2 separate regions of the Homo sapiens genome follow, and region 2 is linked to region 1. The links are contacts of gene promoters, found by promoter capture Hi-C in blood cells and fetal thymus (Javierre and others, 2016). All regions are on one chromosome and are shown on one strand. Each heading gives the region's core, a stretch centred on a gene start or on the middle of the fragment in contact. The rest is flanking DNA. Distances are from core to core; before and after follow the strand shown. Region 1 holds the start of WNT9A (Wnt family member 9A). Region 2 holds the start of ZNF678 (zinc finger protein 678).

Region 1 (3,975 bases), core at 71-2,570:
CAGCCTTCCGGGGGCATGTGCTCCGCCCCCCAGGTTCTGCGGTCACTGTGCCAGAATCAGTCCCTGCAGGCACAGAGGGCACTGCCTAGAGACCTGGCACCGCAGCCCAGGTCTCTGAGGCCCCTGCAGCACGTGGCTGGGCAGGCTCGCTGGCCCTGTGTCCTCAGCCTTGGCAGCCTAGCCCGTGTTGGAGGCACCATCCTGCACTGACCAGGGTCTGCAGGTGGCAGGCATGCCACCGCCAGCCTGGACCCCAAGCCCTGTTCTTGTGTCCCTTGTTGCATGGCACAGAGGCCCCATCCAGGGAACTTATAAGCCTTCTCCTGGATGCCACCCCCAGGTCTGTCTGGAATGTGTGCACCTGTATCCTAATGCCAGCTCTGGGTCCTCTGACACCATTCTGCTTCAGAAGCAGCTCCGAATCCGTATCGCAGAGGGGACGAGTCCCCGGGCTGTGACTGAGCGCTTCCAGCTGCCTGGGTGTGCACCTTCCATCCCAGGAGTCCTCTTTCTCCCCGTCCCGGCCAGGACACAGGCTCTGAGAAGGGCGTTGCCCGATGGCTGGTGTTTCATTGACTTAGCCGCTAGCTCCACTCCCACAATTTAAGAATGGGGAGACCATCAGGACCCCAAAAGGTAGAGCTACTCACCTCACAGCCCCAGCAGGCTACGTCGCTTCATTCCCAGGCCGAAAGCGGCCACAGTCCCTGCCAGAAAGGAGCGATTCTCTGGCCCCGCTCCTTGAGGGGGTCAGCATGCGCAAGAGGCGCAGGCATCACCGGCTGGCCCGACTCCTCCTCACCAAGCTTCCCCCGGAGCAGCCGCGCAGCGCCCAGCTCGGGGCAGACGGCTGGGTCCTCTGTGGAACCATCCCCGACCGTCCCGGCCTGGAGCCCCGCCGGCGGCTAGCCCGGCGGCCAACGCCTCCCCTCCCCTCCCCCTCAATCCCGCCCCGGGGGCCGCCCCAAGCTCCCACTGCAGCGCCCCCAACGCTCTACCCGCTTCCCGATGCCCGCCTCCGGCCCCCCAATGCCGTCCCGCCGTGGTCGCCCCGGGTTCTCGCACGCCCCGCCCTCGGTTCCCACCGCTCTCCGCCTCCCCTTCCTCCATCCCCGCCGGGCAGGGCGCGCCCGAGACCCGCGCCGGGAGCGGCGGCCGGGGCCCCGAGTGGCCGGGAGGGGCTGGCGGGCTGGCGCGCGCGGCTCGGGTTTCGGCCCGCCCCCGGCGCCGGCGTGATCCCCTCCCGGGCGCGGGGCGGGGCCGGGCCCAGCTGGCCGCGCTCCGGGCGCTATAAGAGGGCGGCGGCCGCGGCGCGCCCTGCGCGGAGCTGGGAGCGCGATGGTCGGCCGCCGAGGCGCGGCAAGATGCTGGATGGGTCCCCGCTGGCGCGCTGGCTGGCCGCGGCCTTCGGGCTGACGCTGCTGCTCGCCGCGCTGCGCCCTTCGGCCGCCTACTTCGGGTAGGTGCCTTCGGCGGCCGGCGCGCACTGGTGGGCGGGGGCGGCGGGGCCGGGGCGGGGTCGTCCGGAGTCCCCGAGGCACCCGGGGTGGCTGGGGCCGGGGCGCGGCGGGGCCGCCGGGTTGCCTGGCGCTGTTTGTTTGCGGCGCGCGCGTCGCTCCGTCCGCTGCGCGGCACGGCTAGAGAGGCGGGTGGACCCGTCCGGCTTGCGCCGGGCCGCGGTCCTCCGTGACCGCAGAGTCGTCGTCGTCGTAGTCGCCGCCGTGAGCAGGACTGCCTCGCGCTTAGGGACTGGGATCAGGTCCCGACTTCCTTGGGCCGCCGTGTCCTTGCCAAAAGGCTGGAGCCTGAGTCCTCAGCCCCTGGCCATCGCCCACCTAGCAGCTTCCCCCCCTTTCTCTTCTCGAGAAGTTAATTTAACAATAACAAAAATACGTACAAAATCCAGATGTTCCTCGCGCTGAGCCCCAAACGGAGAGAGAGAGAGAAAGAGAGAAATCCTCCAAGCTGGAGGAATTTATTTTTCTTGCGCTTTGCTTCTGACTCTGTGGCCCGGGCCCCGGCCCGCGGGAGCGCGTCCATGGAACCTGGCCGGGAGCGCAGGGCCCGGCCGGGGCGTCCCGCGGTGTCATTGCCCGTGCTCACGTGTCTCTGCAGCAGCGCTTTGCCGGGCTGTCGGCGCGTCTCTCTCTTCCTTTCTTTCCCTTCCTTCTTCCCTCCCCCTCTCTGAGGTCTGGGATGCCCAGTCCTGCGACCTTTACAGGGACCCTCGCTGCGCTTTGGGCGCGCTGAGGTGCAGGGTGGCGCCGTGCGAGGCAGCGCCCCGGGCCTCCCCGCCACCCTCCAGCCTCCTACCCCGAGCGCCGCCGCTGGGAGCCCTGGCTGGCCTTCGGATCCCAGCCCCCGACCTGGACGCCCTGGGCCGCTCCCTCAGCCGGGCCGCCGCCCTCCGCCGGTCACCTGTTCCCGGCCCTCTGGCCTGAGCGCCAGCGCGCGGCGGGCTGGCCGGCAGAGGGCCCCGTTGGTCCAGGAATCTGGCACCCGCCCGGGCAGGGAGAGGCCGCCTGGGCCGAGGAGCCCTGCAGGTGTATCCTGTTCTCAAAGAAAATAAAATATTTTCATGGGAAACTTTCCCTTTGTGTTTTTCTTTCTCTCCCTTTCTTCTCTCTGTTCCTTTCTTCTGGGTCGTCTTCCAGGGTCAGCCCGGTGTCTCAGTTCCCTGGGGCCCCCACCCGCAGCCCTCTCCTGGCTCCAACTGTGGGTACGGCCCTGGGCCTGGGCTGGCACGCCACTGCACGCCATCTGTGCAACCCGTAGCCTCACCCGGGAGGGCAGGAGGGAGGGCCACAGGTCCGCGGTGACTCACCGTGGCCTTGTCAGCCAGCTGTGCTTCCCTGCTCTCCGGCCCAGCGGAGGCTCTGCTTCTTGGGCTGGGGACACACCCTGGGCTTGTCCAGGCTGCAGCGGCTTTGTCCCTGCTGTGATCCGATTCCTGGAGACGGGGTGGCGCTGGGTCTTGGCCTCTCCTTCTCTGACCTATCTCTGGGCTTTGTGCCCTAGAGAAGGTCAAGGGGCTCTGCTGCTTTGTGTGCGTGTGTTTCAGCTCTCTTGCAGACAGTAAGTCCAGGCTGGTGCCAGGCGCATAGCAAGGACTTAAGTGCTGTTGTGGCTTCTCTGGCCAGGCCCCCTTGGCCCTGCTTCTTGGCTCCAAAGGACCCATCAAGGGAGAATTCCTGAGTCCTGTCTGAGGGCAGCTCTCCATGTAGCTGCCCTGTGGGAAGTCCAGAGGGCAAGTGTGCTGCCTTTGGGGACAGCTGGCATTGCAGAGGGCAGCTAGGACTCTGTTTGACTGATGGAGAATGAGCACCTTCCTGAACCAGGGGCTGGGGGGGCATCCTGGGTCAGGGCAGGCCAGGTTCCATCTGGGCTGCTGGAGGCCTTGGGCCCCCTGTAAGTCAGTTCCCAAGGTTGGGCTGGGGAGGGGAAGCAGGGCACAAAGGGCTCCAGGCTGGGTTGTGCGGAGGCCTCTCCTGCTGTGGCTCCTGGCCCAGCAAAGGCAGGGGGTGGCCCAGGGCATTAAAGGCCAGGCGGGGCTGGAGCTGGAGGGGGGCTGGGGTGGCCCTTCCCAGCTCCAGTCCAGGAAGCAGGGAGAAGGGGCTGGGATCTAGGGCCGTTTTCTCCCTTCCCCCTCTCAAAAGCTCTGCCTGGCACGGAGTCTCCCAGGCAGGAACACGGCTCCAGTTACAGCCCAGGAACCCGGAGAGGAGAGGCTGGCCTGGGGGAGGGTCACGTGGACCCACGGGAGCCCTCCCTGCCTGCTCCCTGAGCTGCAACCCAACCCTGGCTGGCGCCCGCTGCCCTCCTAGAGGCCTCTGGCCACCAGGCTGGACCCCCTGTGGGGAAGAGGCTCCCCTTGGCCTGGCCCTGCACCTTGGCCTGGCTAGCAGGTGGCATCTCCATCTGGTTCTCCCATGGCTATGTCCATGTGCCTCCTCGCTGGCCTGGCCCCAAGCCCTT
Region 2 (3,986 bases), core at 263-2,762, 380 kb after region 1:
AAAAAAAAAAAAAGCCGGGTAGGGAAAAAACAACAGGCCAGGCGTGGTGGCTCACGCCTGTAATCCCAGCACTTTGGGAGGCCAAGGCGGGGGATCACGAGGTCAGGAGTTGGAGACCAGCCTGACCAACATGGTGAAACTAAAATACAAAATACTAAAAATACAAAAATTAGCCGGGGGTGGTGGCGCGGGTCTGTAATCCCAGCTACTCAGGAGGCTGAGGCAGGAGAATCGCTTGAACCCGGGAGGCAGAGGTTGCAGTGAGCCAAGATCGCGCCACTGCACTACAGCCTGGGCTACAGAGCGAGACTCCTTCTTAAAGAAAAAACAAAAACAAACAAAACAACAACAGCAACAACAAAGAGTGCCCTCCAATGTTCTGTGAAAAAATGATTAATTAAAATATTGTGCCTGGAGTACGCAATAAAAGACAAATAGCTGACAGTGTTGTGAACTGAAGAGGTGATGGTGGTTTTTATGAATTTTGGAAAGAAACTGAAAATTTAGTATTTTATTGCAGGCCAGAGTCAGGCTGGGAGAACAGAGGAGTGGATTTAAGACCCTGCTTTCCATGTTATTTGGAAAATGCAGGGGAAAAGCAGTCTCTTGTGCAGTGTTAAAATAATTAGCAGGCAATTAGACTGAGGTGGCTCTAGTGTCTTGCGTTTCTACATGAAAAAGAATATTAATAGCTCAAATGCATTTCTTGTTAATGACTGCCTTAAGTAGAAACAAAATCCAAGTTCAACCAATCACAAAACTCCAATTAATCAGTAATTAAATAACCAGGAAATTTCCACCTGGACAGTCCAAATAAGGTGACTGTAACTGTCGTCAATTATTAAATTTGGCTTGCTTCCTCATGCACCTTACAAAAAAGTTTTTCCTTCAAGCACCTCCTCCATAAACCCACAAGCCACACACCATAGCTGGGCGCTCTCCCATTCATGAAACTCCCTTTCCTCAAACTCTTCAAAGCTTTAAAAGTGACTCCATTTTTCACAGGAAAAAGGATGGACTGCACAGCTAAGATAAGCCCCATGGAACAGCTCTTCCCACGCATGTTTCGCACACCGATTTGGCTTCTCCCCGATGACCCTCCCCTCTGGACAAAGCACACAGTCTGGGGGACCCGCGGGGCTGCGGCTTCATAGCCGCCCAGAGAGGCCGGGGCGGAAGCCGCGGCGCAGTGATGGGAGGAGAATCCCGCGGCGGCCTGGCCCCGCCCCTACCCAGAGGTGACAGATCCCACAGGTGCCAGCCGGGACTCCGGGCCGCGGACTCTAGTGCTGACGCCGGGAGGCCGGACCGCCATCTTGGAACACCCTCCCGGGAACTCTCACCGTTTTCCGGCTTTCGGGGTGTCCTGGCATCTTAGCTATGTAACTCCCAGTACCTGCAGGTCACAGGGAAACCAGACACTGCAGCAGCAGAGTCACCAGGGCCTCCCGCAGCTGGGGATAAATAGCCGAGAATACGGGACCAAAGCTCCAGCTGGAGCACAAGACAAAGGCCCCGCCAGATCCCGGAAACCCCCTCCGCCTCTCAAGCTGCGCTCCTGATTGGACAGTTCCCACGTCAATGTCCCTGATTGGACAGGGCTCCAGGACCCGCCTCCTTTGGTTATGAGTGACAGGAGATGAGGTCAGCAAAGGGGTTGAATGAGACTATTAACAAAATGGGCAATTTTTTTTGTATCCTTCCAAAATTGTTCCATGTCTTTCCATGCATACCATCTTTAATAAAGGGCGCACTCTTAAGCCAATCTGCAATCTCTGTTCCTGAGTGTCTAAACAACGTCATCATCATCTTCTGTTGGAGAAAAACCTGAAGATGAGTTTTCCTCCCAAAGCACAGAACAGTCAGAAGCCGAGGCGTGCTTGGGAATGCTGGCGGGTGGAAAGGGGAGGCGCATTCCGGTGCGCCTGTGGAACTGTCCTTGCAAGCAGGACCCAGGTCCAGAACAGCTATGCAATGCATGTGTTTCTGACCAAAGGGGGCCTGCTGTCCACCCGCCTCTTCTGCTGGGCAGGGCAGCGCATGGTTGGGGTATTTACACCCAGGCAGGTGTCCCAGGCCAGTCCCCTGTCAACCCATCATAATAAAAAAGTCAGAATCTATTTTCAAAAGTATATTCAAAAGCATATGTTTAGGATACCTACCTGAGAGCATAGACTAAAGTTGCCCTGATTATACATTCCAACTAGTAACCATTACAAGTGGGTTTTAAGAAAAGAGGCAGTTCCTAAAATTTTCATCAAAAATTTACATTAAAATCCAGAAGTCACTGACTGGCTATACATTGTTCTTTGTATCACAAATTCCAGATGAGACAGCTAGTTAGGAACAACATACCTTTAAACAATTGCCCCTGGGAAAGGGTGTGGAGATGTGTCTCAAATCCCATACTCAAGTCTCTCTGGGCCAGAAAAATCTTCCGTACCTCACAGAGCTTCAGCTACTTAGAGCTATTCTTTTCTTATCTCCATAGTCAGTACACTTGGACCCTTAACAAGAAATAAGTTCAAACAGAAAATTTGCCAAGCCACAGGAATAATGGCCTGTCAGTGCCCTTCAGGAAGCTGATTGTCACTTTCCTTCAACACCCTTTCCACAGCTTCCCCCCAACACACACACCCTGGATCCCGGGAGAGAGGGGCTGAGACGCACCCAGACACACCTCGCTGCCCCTCCTGCAAACATACACCCACACACAGACACACAGACAAAGACACAGACACAGGCAGCTTGAAGGAGAGCAAGAGAGAGGGATGGAGACATAGAAACGGAGGGAGAGAAAGACAGTGATAGAGAGGCAGAGTGAGTCAGGATTGAGAGAGAGAGAGAGAGAGAGAAGGCTACAGAAAGAGCACGAGGTGGAGGGGGAAGAAGAAGAGAGAGGATGAGGGACTTACAGAGCCATAGAGCCTTGGAGAGGGAGTGTTCTGCTCCGGTAGACAGGGCCCCTTTGAGCAGGACAGGGTAGGGTGGAGGGTGCTTGGGCTGGGCCAGAACAGGGTGGAAGGGCTAACGGAGTGACCCAACAGAGCCCTGAGACGTATTTTTTGTTGGATTGGTTGCTTTGGTGGTGCGTTTCATAGGACTTTTCCTTTGTTGGCTCCTCCCTGTCCTCTTGGTGCGGTGGGCCCCGAGATTTGTAGAGTGCAACCGTCCCTCTAGCGAGAGCTGTGGCACCGAGCATGCCCACGGGGCAGAGGCCTGGGTCTGTCTCGTGTCCTCCGGAATGGAGTTTATACGAAGTTGGTGGCAATGGGATTCCGAGTGCACAGGGACGGTTTTCCTGGTGGCTGGAGAAGGCAATGTCCTTCCCCTGGGGAAAGTAGCCCATGCGTTCTGGAGCGGAGGTCTTGGCTGGTGTCTTGTGGGGCCCGCTTCCCCTGCCCGCCCCTTCCCCCGGCTTGGACAGTGCCAGCGGCGCTGGATGAGTGAATTAAATTCCCTGGGCGTCCCGGGAGAGGGAAGACACCCTGGACGGCAGGGAACCCGCCCCTGAGCCTTCGAGGTTGGCCCCGGCCCGGCCCTCCCCGCCCCGCCCCGGGCAGCGAGCTGGGCTACTGATGGGGTGGCTGCCAGGCGGAAGAGCTGGGAAGCTGCTAACTGGCGGTGCTGCAGTGGCGGACGCCCCACGAGGAGGTCCCAGGGTACCGCGAGGGCGCAGGCGGGCGGAAAAGGAGGAGCAGAGTCAGGGTGCGGTTGGGAGGCATCGCGATAAAAGGAGGAAAGTGGGAGGGACCGGGAAACCAAAAAGCCTACAGCACCCGTTATTCCCAGGCGGTCTCCCAGTTAAGTACTAACCAGGCCTGACCCTACTTAGCCTCGAGAGATCAGACGAGATTGGACGCGTTCAGGGTGGTATGGCCATAGACGCCTGGCAGCCCTAAGAGCTCCGCTCAGTCTTGCGCGCCCGACTCCAGGCATCCCGGCAACCCCGGGTCCACGGGGCTCGGATCAAGTACCCCTGAGCT

The links. The method cuts DNA at HindIII sites, captures the fragments that hold promoters and counts their contacts. A CHiCAGO score of 5 or more calls a contact.
Region 2: a contact is called between the fragment with the promoter of ZNF678 here and the fragment with the promoter of WNT9A in region 1, in 6 of 17 cell types (total CD4 T cells, megakaryocytes, endothelial precursors and 3 more). The highest score is 10.1, in total CD4 T cells.

Annotation. Positions count from the first base shown.
Region 1 is chr1:227,945,277-227,949,251 of GRCh38, reverse strand. WNT9A (Wnt family member 9A) reads left to right here and starts at 1,320. Exons shown (of 4, transcript NM_003395.4): 1 at 1,320-1,459. The coding sequence starts at 1,365. It overlaps LOC124904533 (a long non-coding RNA gene), which reads right to left and starts at 3,394. Exons shown (of 2, transcript XR_007066912.1): 1 at 2,825-3,394; 2 at 1,949-2,550. RefSeq lists silencers at 1,206-1,285, 2,389-2,498 and an enhancer at 1,366-1,415. The HindIII fragment of the contact is 8,120 bases long and covers 809-3,975 here.
Region 2 is chr1:227,561,082-227,565,067 of GRCh38, reverse strand. ZNF678 (zinc finger protein 678) reads right to left here and starts at 1,512. Exons shown (of 4, transcript NM_001367909.1): 1 at 1,344-1,512. It also overlaps the pseudogene RNA5SP77. RefSeq lists an enhancer at 1,277-1,556. The HindIII fragment of the contact is 3,691 bases long and covers 981-3,986 here.